Linked DNA regions of Homo sapiens: region 1 is linked to region 2. Evidence: promoter capture Hi-C in human tissues and cell types (Jung and others, 2019). All regions are on one chromosome and are shown on one strand. The core of a region is centred on a gene start or on the middle of the fragment in contact, and the rest is flanking DNA. Distances in the headings are between cores, read along the strand shown. Region 1 holds the start of TSSK4 (testis specific serine kinase 4). Region 2 holds the start of OXA1L (OXA1L mitochondrial inner membrane insertase).

Region 1 (5,661 bases), core at 726-3,225, 1.4 Mb after region 2:
ATTGCACTCCAGCCTGGGCAACAAGAGCGAAACTCCATCTCAAAACAAAAACAGACGGGGCGCGGTGGCTCATGCCTATAATCCCAGCACTTTGGGAGGCCAAGGTGGGCAGATCACCTGAGGTCGGGAGTTCAAGACCTGCCTGACCAACATGGAGAAACCCTGTCTCTACTAAACATACAAAATAGCTAGGCATGGTGGTGCATGTCTGTAATCCTAGCTACTAGGGAGGGTGAGGCAGGAGAATCGCTTGAACCCAGGAGTTGGAGGTTGTAGTGAGCCAAGATCGTGCCATTGCACTCCAGCCTGGGCAACAAGAGCGAAACTCCATCTCAAAAAAAAAAAAAGAGAAAAAAGGTCCTATGCCAAGTTCTCAAGGAAGATTTGGAGTTTGCCACAAATACAGAAAAGCAGTTGTGGATCATTACGTGTGTGTTAAAAAATAAAATTGGGGAGGTAAGCAGGATCAGACTTAAAGCTGTGTGAAAGAATTTGGATGGACTTGATCCTAAAGAGAATGGGGAGACACTGAATTGTTTCAAATGGAAATAAAATCAGATTTATGCTTTGGACTTGGGATGGACAGACTGGAGTGGAGCAGAAGGCTGGCGGGGGCCATCTGTTCGATGATGGAGGCGTGAACTAAGGGATTAGCAGTGGGCTCAGAAAACCATGAGAATATTATCAAAGAGAGAATCAGGAGGTATAAGAGATAGGATTTCGTGATAGATTGAATGTAGGGACTGAGGCAGGAGGGTCTGGGATGACATATGAGTGTCTAAATTAAGGGTGATTAGTGTACAACTCACAGAAAAGTCTGAGAGAAGAAAATAAGTTCAATTATTGATATGGTTAAGTTTGAGATGGATATGGTAAGTTCCATGCCTGGGGCAGACATGGCCACGTAATACTGGCTGCTCTATCTAAACTCCAGATATATGGGATGGAGATGAAATTAGGAGCAGTCAGCATAAATGTAGTATTGACACCATGGGTATGGACAAGATTAAGGGAGGATGTGAAGGTTTGAGAAAATAAAGCTTGTGATGTAACACTTGGGATATGATTAAGGGATGGATAGAGAAAGATATAACTTCAGTGAAGGCTGAGGAGTGACCAGAAGGATGTGGAGGAAAACTAGAGAGTTCTGGCTCATAGAAGATAAGGATGCATTTCAAGGTTAGATTTTCCTAGAACATGTTCAATACCTTACAATGGTAATACTTTCACACTCGTATTTCTCATGCTGCATTATAAGCTTTAGGATCATAGTGTCTCTATTGGCCTTATTGAACTAAGGGGGCTGCAATGGGCTCGGAAAGCCTTGAGTGTATCATTAAAGAGATAAGTAGGAGATAGCAGAGACAGGATTTGATGAAAGATTGTATGTAGGGATTGAGGAAGGAGGAAGGGTCTGGCATGACATTTGGGTGACATTTTATCCAAGTATTCAGCACAGTGTCTGGTACTTAGTAGGTACTCATATATCAATGAAAGGTCTGATCTTTAGGAGTTTCACCAGACTGTGGAAGGTGCCTCTGGGAATGAGTACGTTTCCAACTGCACTTCATTCTCTTTTTTTTTTTTTTTTTTTTTGAGACGGAGTCTCGCTCTGTCGCCCAGGCTGGAGTGCAGTGGCGCAATCTCGGCTCACTGCAAGCTCTGCCTCCCAGGTTCACGCCATTCTCCTGCCTCAGCCTCCCAAGTAGCTGGGACTACAGGCGCCCGCCACTACGCCCGGCTAATTTTTTGTATTTTTAGTAGAGACGGGGTTTCACCGTTTTAGCCGGGATGGTCTCGATCTCCTGACCTCGTGATCCGCCCGCCTCGGCCTCCCAAAGTGCTGGGATTACAGGCGTGAGCCACCGCGCCCGGCCGCACTTCATTCTCAAGTTTTGTGGCCAACGATGGATAGGAGGTGGATTGTGATGTATTCGGAACATGGGACCTTGAGGAGTTCCGTAACCAAAAGGAGAAAGTAACAACAGCCAGTGGAGACAAAAAGAACTGCTTCTCTTTCTTTCCCCCTCCAAGTTCCTAGTGGAGGGCTGAGTCCAGCATCCCAGACTCGTGTGACTATATAGGCAAGCATTTGGGGACCTACTTCACTTTGATACCCTAGCCTTCAGCAGCTCAAGGTGTTGGCCTTTGGATAGGAGGCTTCCAAGTAGTAAAGCTCCCTGCTCTCAGCAAGCCCAACACCATGGGGAAGGGAGATGTCTTAGAGGCAGCACCAACCACCACAGCCTACCATTCCCTCATGGATGAATATGGTTATGAGGTGGGCAAGGCCATTGGCCATGGCTCCTATGGGTCGGTATATGAGGCTTTCTACACAAAGCAGAAGGTTATGGTGGCAGTCAAGATCATCTCAAAGAAGAAGGCCTCTGATGACTATCTTAACAAGTTCCTGCCCCGTGAAATACAGGTTGGAAAGGGGGCTGGAAGAGGGAACTGGAGCTTGGTACTAAGCTGCTTGAGGTTTCTCAGAAGGGGTATGGCCAGGAGGGGTGGGGCCAGAAACCCCTAAACCAGAACTGAAATGTCTCACTAAGCAGCTAGGAAACTTTATGTAAGTTAAACCTCTTTCCCATCCACCCACTCACCTTCAGTCCCCAAAAAGTAAAGGCACAAAACATAGCATTTGCCCACAGGCCACCAGTTCTCTGGGGTTGAGGGGCTGATCCTATTGCAAAGTCCTAAGTCAGTAGCTGAGGGTAGGAGACGGCTGGGAGTGCAGTCAGGGTTCTCCCTTCCCAGGTTTGATGGGTCCTTCTTCTGGGGTCAGGTAATGAAAGTCTTGCGGCACAAGTACCTCATCAACTTCTATCGGGCCATTGAGAGCACATCTCGAGTATACATCATTCTGGAACTGGCTCAGGGTGGTGATGTCCTTGAATGGATCCAGCGCTACGGGGCCTGCTCTGAGCCCCTTGCTGGCAAGTGGTTCTCCCAGCTGACCCTGGGCATTGCCTACCTGCACAGCAAGAGCATCGTGCACCGGTGAGGGCGCTGCCACCCAGACTGGGGCCTTTGCCCTCAAGGGGGTTTTATGCACATCTCCCATTTCCTGTCCTTTTTTCCTCTTTCGAACTCCCTCCTCAATATCTAGCCTATTCATGCACTCTATTTTAATCATATGGTCAAGGATACTGATAAAGTACTCACTGTATGCAAAGCATTTTATGAAATACAATGGTGAGCTCCCGGTGGTCCTCAGATACCATCCTCTGTCTCTCTCCCTACTTTGGGCTCTGCTCACAACTCCATGGCTTTCCTTCCTCTCTACCTTGTGCCCTCATAATGGTTTCTACCTCCCACTTCCTCTGTCCTCATCTTTACCCTCTGACCCCTGGCCCTTCAGCTCCCAGTCTAAAACTAAGCCCTCTCCCCAGCCTGATGCCCAGCCTTTCTGCTGCTGGTAGGGACTTAAAGTTGGAGAACCTGTTGCTGGACAAGTGGGAGAATGTGAAGATATCAGACTTTGGCTTTGCCAAGATGGTGCCTTCTAACCAGCCTGTGGGTTGTAGCCCTTCTTACCGCCAAGTGAACTGCTTTTCCCACCTCAGCCAGACTTACTGTGGCAGCTTTGCTTACGCTTGCCCAGAGATCTTACGAGGCTTGCCCTACAACCCTTTCCTGTCTGACACCTGGAGCATGGGCGTCATCCTTTACACTCTAGTGGTCGCCCATCTGCCCTTTGATGACACCAATCTCAAAAAGCTGCTAAGAGAGACTCAGAAGGAGGTCACTTTCCCAGCTAACCATACCATCTCCCAGGAGTGCAAGGTACTGGCTACCTAAGGAGGGCTGAGCCTTCAGGGATGACCCACAGGGAGGGGTGAATATCCAACCTAGGTCACCCAACCTAGGCCTCCCAACCCTGGGGAAAGGCTCTTCCCACACCAGAGCCATCTCACACACTAGCTCCTGTCCTATAATAAACAGTATGGAAGGCATAAAGGGCCAACCACTAGGCTCCAAACCTTGCCTGATACACAGGTTCCAGCTTCTTTCTCTTTAGGCCAGAAGGGAAATATGGAAAGCATTCCTCCCAAGGAACTCTTCCCTTCCCCTCCAGGGAGTTAACTGCCTGGGTCTCCAAGATAAAATCAGAGCCACACCCACTTTGACCAGAGTGGTATGATGGGCTATCCTGCTTCTTTCTTAGGTCCAACTGCTCATTGCCTGTGTGGCACAATGGAGAAAAACTCAGGCAAGACCTCTCTCTCCCCTGCTCTAGAACCTGATCCTCCAGATGCTACGCCAAGCCACTAAGCGTGCCACCATTCTGGACATCATCAAGGATTCCTGGGTGCTCAAGTTCCAGCCTGAGCAACCCACCCATGAGATCAGGCTGCTTGAGGCCATGTGCCAGCTCCACAACACCACTAAACAGCACCAATCCTTGCAAATTACGACCTGAAAATGGCTGAGGGAGGGGGCTAAGAGAGGAGCAAAGCAGGAGGTCTTGGGCTAAAAATCTTTTTTACCAAAAATAAATCTAAGTCTGATTTAGTTTCATCAACTAGGGTCAAAGACATTCTTTTCTCAAGGCAATCTTATAGCAGGGAACACTGCTGGAGTAAGAGATAGATTTCTGCCCAGAGCCTGTAACCAATAATCTTGACACTGTGTTAAATCAATAGTGTAATTCATGATGTGGCTCTTAGGGGATGGGGTGCTCAGATTAACGCTCTATTTTGGGAAGCTTTATTATTCAACTCAACATATGCTCATTATTTTACATCTTTGTGCTGTTTAAATGCTCAAGTAGTGGGGTAAAAGCCCTGGTTCTTCCACTTTGATTATGGCTCTGCCTGTCTATAGTCCAAAGTAATGGCACTGTTAGTTCTTTTAGAAATGGGTATTCGAGCTGGGTGCGGTGGCTCACGCCTGTAATCCCAACACTTTGGGGGGCCGAGGCGGGCAGATCACTTGAGGTCAAGAGTTCGAGACCAGACTGGCCAACATGGCAAAACCCTGTCTCTATGAAAAATACAAAAATTAGCCGGGCATAGTGGCACCTGGCTGAGGCAGGAGAATCACTTGAACCCGGGATGCAGGGGTTGCAGTGAGCCGAGATCGCGCCACTGCACTCCAGCCTGGGCGACAAAGTGAGACTCTGTCTCAAAAAAAAAAAAAAAAGAAAAGAAAAGAAATGGGTATTCGGGTGTATGAAGTACCTTGGTTCCTTTTCCCTCTTCCAGTGTCACCTTAACCACTACTGACACAATAGCAGGGAGACAAGGCTTCTCACACAATTGTTCCCAGACACAGAATTCAAACCAAGCCTTCTAGTAGTGAAAGCTACTAACTATGGGTTCTGGATAAAGGAAAGCTACTTGCTCCTTCCATTCCAAGTAGCAAAGCTACTTGCTCCTTCCATTCCAAGTAGCAAAGCTACTTGCTCCTTCCATTCCAAGTAGCAAAGCTACTTGCTCCTTCCATTCCAAGTAGCAAAGCTACTTGCTCCTTCCATTCCAAGTAGCAAAGCTACTTGCTCCTTCCATTCCAAGTAGCAAAGCTACTTGCTCCTTCCATGGTATTCTCCCTCCTTGTCCTTGAAAATGGGCTTTGTAAAAGAAATTTGGGGCTGTCTTGGCAGAGGCACGACCAGGGGAAAGCAATGAGGGAAGACTCAGAGATGCCTCCACGTGG
Region 2 (5,702 bases), core at 2,779-5,278:
CTACCCCTCAGAAAAAAAGATTCCTATCAAAATATTATTGCAGGCTGGGCACAGTGGCTCATGCCTGTAACCCCAACATTTAAGGAGGCCAAGGCAGGAAAATCACTTGAGGCCAGGAGTTCGAGACCAGTCTAGGCAACACAGCAAGACTCAGTCTCCATTAAAAAAAAAATTACTGACCATTGATAGTGCACCTTGTCACCCTATAGCTCTGATCGAGATGTACAAGGAGATTAATGTTGTTTTCATGCCTGCTAACACAAAATCTTTTCCTTAGCCTGTGGATCAAGAAGTACTTTTGACTTTCAAGTCTATTATTTAAGAAATATATTTTGTAAAGTTATGGCGGCCATAGATAGCAATTCCTATGATGGATCTGGGCAAAGTCAATTGAAAACCTTTTGGAAAGGATTCACCCTCCTAGATGCCATTAAGAGCATTTGTGATTCATGGGAGGAGGTGAAAATATCAACATTAACTGGAGTTTAGAAGAAGTTGATTCCAACCCTCATGGTTGATGTTGAGGAGTCTAAGACTTTATGGAGGGATGTAACTGCAGATGTGGTAGAAACAGCAAGAGAACTAGAATTGGAAGTGGAGTCTGAAGATGTGACTGAATTGCTACAATCTCATGATAAAACTTTAAGAGATGAGGAGTTGCTTCTTCTAGACAAAGTGGTTTTTTGAGATGACATCTACTCATGGTGAAGTTGCTATGAACATTGTTGAAATGACAACAAAAGATTTAAAATATCATATAAACTTAATTGACAAAGCAGCAGCAGGGTTTGAGAGGACTAACTCCAATTTTGAAAGAAGTTCTACCGTGGGTAAAATCCTTTCAAACAGCATCACATGCTATAGAGAAATCTTTCATGAAAAGCATAGTCAATTGATGCAGCAAACTTCATTGTCTTATTTTATGCCACCCCAACCTTCAGCAACCACCACCTTGATAGTCAACAAACATCAAGGCAAGACCCTCCACCAGTAAAAATATGACTTGCTGAAGGCTCAGATGATCATCAACATTTTTAAGCGATATAATATTTTCAAATTAAGGTATGTACATTGTTTTTTAAACATGTTATTGCACACTTAAGAGACTACAGTATAGTGTAAACATAACTTTTTCTTTTTTTTTTTTTGAGATGGAGTTTCACTCTTGTTGCCCAGGCTGGAGTGCAATGGCATGATCTCGGCTCACTGCAACCTCCACCTCCCAGGTTCAAGCAATTCTCCTGTTTCAACCTCCCAAGTAGCTGGGATTACAGGTGCCCACCACCACGCTTGGCTAATTTTTGTATTTTTAATAGAGACGGGTTTCACCATGTTGGCCAGGCTGGTCTCAAACTCCTGACCTCAAGTGATCCACCCACCTCGGCCTCCCAAAGTGCTAGGATTACAGGCATGAGCCACCACACCCGGCCTAGTATTTTTTTTTTTAAGAGATGGGGTCTTACCATGTTACCAAGGTTGGTCTCAAACTCCTGAGCTCAAGCGATCCACCTGCCTCAGCCTCCCAAAGTGCTGAGATTACAGGCCTGAGCCACCATGCCGGCCCAACATAACTTTTATATGCACTGCAAAACAAAAAAATCCCTGTGACTCACTTTATTATGATATTGGCTTTATTGTAGTGGTCTGGAACCCAACCCACAGTATCTTCCAAGTTTGCCTGTACATTTTAGCTATCTATTATTAAACAACTTAGTGGCTTAAAACTACAATAATTTTATTTATTTGCTTGTAATTTTGCAATGTGGGCTCAAATAGCCTTTCTTTGCTCCACACGCAGTCACCTGAGGTGGCTCCAGTGGGCTGGAGAATCCACTTTTTAAATGGCCTTCTTCACGTGGCTGGCAAAAGTTGGTGTTGACTGCTGGCTGGGAGTTCAACTGAGGCTGTTGGCCCAAACCTCAGTTCTTCTTCACATGGTTGGTTGGGCTTTTCACAGGCAGTAAGTCTGAGAAGTCAAACTTCTAACACAGCAGCTGGCTTCCCCCGAATGCAAAAACAGAAGCTATCAGGCCTTCTTAAGGCATAGTCCCAAACTGGCATAACATCACTTCCAACGCATTCTACTATTGATTAAAGCAAGTGACAGGCCCAATCAGACTCAAGAGAAGAGAACTCCTAAAGGTGCAAATATTGGGAAGCCTGGTTCATTTGGGGCCACCAAAGTAGCAGTGTACTGTAAGATAGTCACCCTGCCAAGTGTTCTGTAGCTGTATATTTGTAATTACTTCTAATTGTATTGAGTTTTAAAAGTAATCTCTAAAAAAAAATCAGTGTTTCCATATCAAAAATCTATTGATGTTTATAATAGCATCCAACATATGCAAGTGTTAGCTCATACCACTAATTATTACTAAATCAGTATTATAGTTCTTTGCCTCCTATTTTCGCCATATCTGTCAGGTACATTCATAATCGTTCCAAATGAGCAGTCACTGAAATAATTTCAGGTTATTGTATCTTTCTGAAACTATAATTTGTTGTTTAGAAAGTAATCTGCATATTGAGAGACTTTGTAAGGGTTCAAACATAATCAAACTCCACCTTTCTGACCAGTAACTTTTTTCCCTGAAGATGAATGCTTTTAACTTCAAGAAACAGAACACCCAAGCAACAGACTTAGAGTCTAAACAGTAAAGACCTTTAATCATCTTTTTTTTTTTTTTTTTGAGATGGAGTCTGTCGCCCAGGCTAGAGTGAGGTGGCTCCACCTCGGCTCACTGCAACCTCCACCTCCCGGATTCAAGCGATTCTCCTGCCTCAGCCTCCCTAGTAGCTGGGACTACAGGTATGCACCACCACGCCCGCCTAGTTATTTTGTTTTTTTGTTTTTTGTATTTTTAGTAGAGACAGGATTTCACCATGTTGGCCAGGCTGGTCTCGATCTCTTGACCTAGTTATCGAGACCACCTCAGCCTCCCAAAGTGATGAGATTACAGGTATGAGCCACTGCACCCGGCCAAGACCTTTAATTAACTTACACAACAAAGTCTGGAGATAGGCAGTTCCAAGCATGGTACAGCAGCTCAATGATATCATCAAGTATTTGGGTGTTTTCTATCTTTGCCCTCAACCATCTTCAGCACGTGAGTTTTTCTTTCCTTTTTTTTTTTTTTTTTGAGACGGAGTCTCGCTCTTGTTGCCCAGGCTGGAGTGCAGTGGCACAATCCCGGCTCACTGCAACCTCTGCATCCCGGGTTCAAGTGATTCTCCTGCCTCAGCCTCCCGAGTAGCTGGGATTACAGGCGCCCACCACCACGCCCGGCTAATTTTTGTATTTTTAGTAGAAATGGGGTTTCACCATGTTGGCCAGGATGGTCTCGACCTCCTGATCTCGTGATCCACCCACCTCGGCCTCCCAAAGTACTGGGATTACAGACCTGAGCCACCGCGCCCGGCCTGCACGTGAGCTTTTCATCTGGAAACTTGTCCCCTCATGGTCAGTCCTCACACCACCCCACTTACAGAAGAAAAAAATGGAAAGGTGAAGTCTCCTCTGGAAGCTTCGTCTTTTTATCTGGGAGGAAAATATTTCCCAGAAGCTGCCTTCTTTTAATTTCTGTCAGACTCTAGACTACCCTCAAATTTCACTGGACCTGCGATTACAATATTACCTAGCAATAAGAATCAAAAGAATCGAACATCATTGAGTGGGAAAAATCCTCTGCAAGTACAGCCAAGCCTTTTCTGAGGCTATTTTTAAACTTACAAATCAGAGGACAATCGCGACATTAGAGGAAAATTACCCAGGTTTACGCCATCACTAACGATGATAGCTTACGATGATAGCTAACCCAGCTCTTCAACTTCCTTTCAATCTCCAGAAAAGGCTCTCTGCGTGCTAATGGTAACGTGGCTTTACAGATTTTTACCCACTTCAAATATGGCCGCCAAGCTCCGTTCTCTTTTACCGCCTGATCTGCGGCTACAATTCTGGCTTCATGCCCGCCTCCAAAAGTGCTTCCTCTCGAGGGGTTGTGGTTCTTACTGCGCAGGCGCAAAAGCAAGTCCTCTTCCGGGCAAAATGGCGATGGGACTAATGTGCGGACGCCGGGAGCTTCTGCGCTTGCTACAGTCCGGGCGTCGGGTAAGGATGCCCCGGGGCAGAGCACCGGGATGCTGCCCTGACCCAGTGAACCAGGCCCCAGGACAGCTCGTGCTAGGGGTATCAGCAGACGCTGACCTGCTCACCGGGACCTGAATGTCATGACCTCGGGTCATGTGAGGACGCGCTAGGGTTAGTCCCCGACACTATGGGCCCAGCAGCCCGGTGTCAGCTTCTGGAATTGGCTTGGCTCCTGGCGAGAGCACCTCGGCCTCGTTCTCAGGGCCCTCCGATGTGGGTCTGCGATAACTGAGATGCGGGGAACCCAGGTTCGAGCTTCGCTCTGCAGGCACCACCCGCTGCATGCCTTCGGGCTAGCGGTCTGCGCGCGGTGATAGCAATGTCCTCCCCTGTAGTGGCCGAGCTGCCTGCTTCTTGGGGAGTTAGCATAATGAATCCCGTTTGCACCCACGCGAGGACTTCTGCTCCCGGTAAAGGGGCTCCATCATCCTTTTACACGCTCAGGTCCACAGCGTCGCAGGGCCCTCGCAATGGCTTGGGAAACCGCTGACCACACGGCTCCTATTCCCAGCAGCCCCGTGCTGCTGTCGCCCACACTACCTCTTCCTTGCGGCTTCCGGCCCCCGCAGCCTCAGTACCTCTGCTATCTCTTTTGCAGAAGTCCAGGTAAGAGGCCTTTCGTTCCTGCAATATTAGGAGTGGTGTTTCCTGGTTGGTTTCATATTTTGTTTTGTTTGGGAGCAGGGGGAATATGGAGCAGAGTTCTTGTCCACGCTCCACACAGCTCTCCAAAATGATAGCATCTCTGCTTAGGATGGATTTTCAATTCAGTGGGGAAATGATTGAAAGTACAACAGGAGAGATGTTATATTTGGTTTTCTGAGCTGTTTTAAAGAAAAGCAATTGTTTCATGTTAATATATGGCAAAAATCATGATAGTGATATTCAAATGGCTGAAGTTTGGAAAACAGTGATAAAAGAAATAACTTCCCAGCATGAAGGGAAGTCATGGATTCTTACTCAAAGTAACTTCTCTTCCTAACTATTGATAAAAATGAGATGTCCTTTTTAAGCTTGAAATCTGCAGACACTAGGCTAACCTGGAAGAACAAGAAGTAGAGAGAACAGAACCCAGTACTGGTTATTATAAAAAGATCTCACTTGCTTTGTGTTCGCTACTGAATAAATATAATACAAGGCTTTCTTTCACACAGGTTCAGGCCCCTCCTGTTGTTGCTGCAACTCCCTCACCCACAGCAGTACCTGAGGTGGCTTCTGGAGAGACTGCAGATGTAGTCCAAACTGCTGCAGAGCAGAGCTTCGCTGAACTGGGGCTGGGGTCATACACCCCAGTGGGACTGATCCAGAATTTACTGGAATTTATGCATGTTGATCTGGGCCTACCTTGGTGGGGGGCCATTGCTGCATGTAAGGGGAATATACCCTGGACATGGGTTAGGGATTTAACCTCATAGATGGCAATTCTTTGAATGGATTCAGGAAGTAGTTGCAGAAGCTCTGGGGTCAGAAGAGCAGATGATTTCAAATGAGCAATAGAGGTTCATGATACCTAGATGCACTCTGCCTATATTTCTTAAAGAGCATTATAAAACCACCA

What was found. The method cuts DNA at HindIII sites, captures the fragments that hold promoters and counts their contacts. A contact is called where the count stands out against the background at its distance.
Region 1: the fragment with the promoter of TSSK4 here is called in contact with the fragment with the promoter of OXA1L in region 2 in 1 of the 25 tissues and cell types used here (aorta).

What each region holds. Positions count from the first base shown.
Region 1 is chr14:24,203,721-24,209,381 of GRCh38, forward strand. It overlaps TSSK4 (testis specific serine kinase 4), which reads left to right and starts at 1,976. Exons shown (of 4, transcript NM_001184739.2): 1 at 1,976-2,428; 2 at 2,789-3,003; 3 at 3,396-3,789; 4 at 4,244-4,528. The coding sequence starts at 2,204. The coding sequence ends at 4,426. RefSeq lists an enhancer at 1-507. The HindIII fragment of the contact is 2,603 bases long and covers 382-2,984 here.
Region 2 is chr14:22,762,660-22,768,361 of GRCh38, forward strand. It overlaps OXA1L (OXA1L mitochondrial inner membrane insertase), which reads left to right and starts at 4,029. Exons shown (of 10, transcript NM_005015.5): 1 at 4,029-4,105; 2 at 4,589-4,750; 3 at 5,299-5,512. The coding sequence starts at 4,043. OXA1L-DT (OXA1L divergent transcript) reads right to left here and starts at 3,903. Exons shown (of 3, transcript XR_001750638.3): 1 at 3,765-3,903. RefSeq lists enhancers at 2,624-3,187, 3,188-3,750, 3,751-4,314, 3,908-4,137. The HindIII fragment of the contact is 11,434 bases long and covers 778-5,702 here.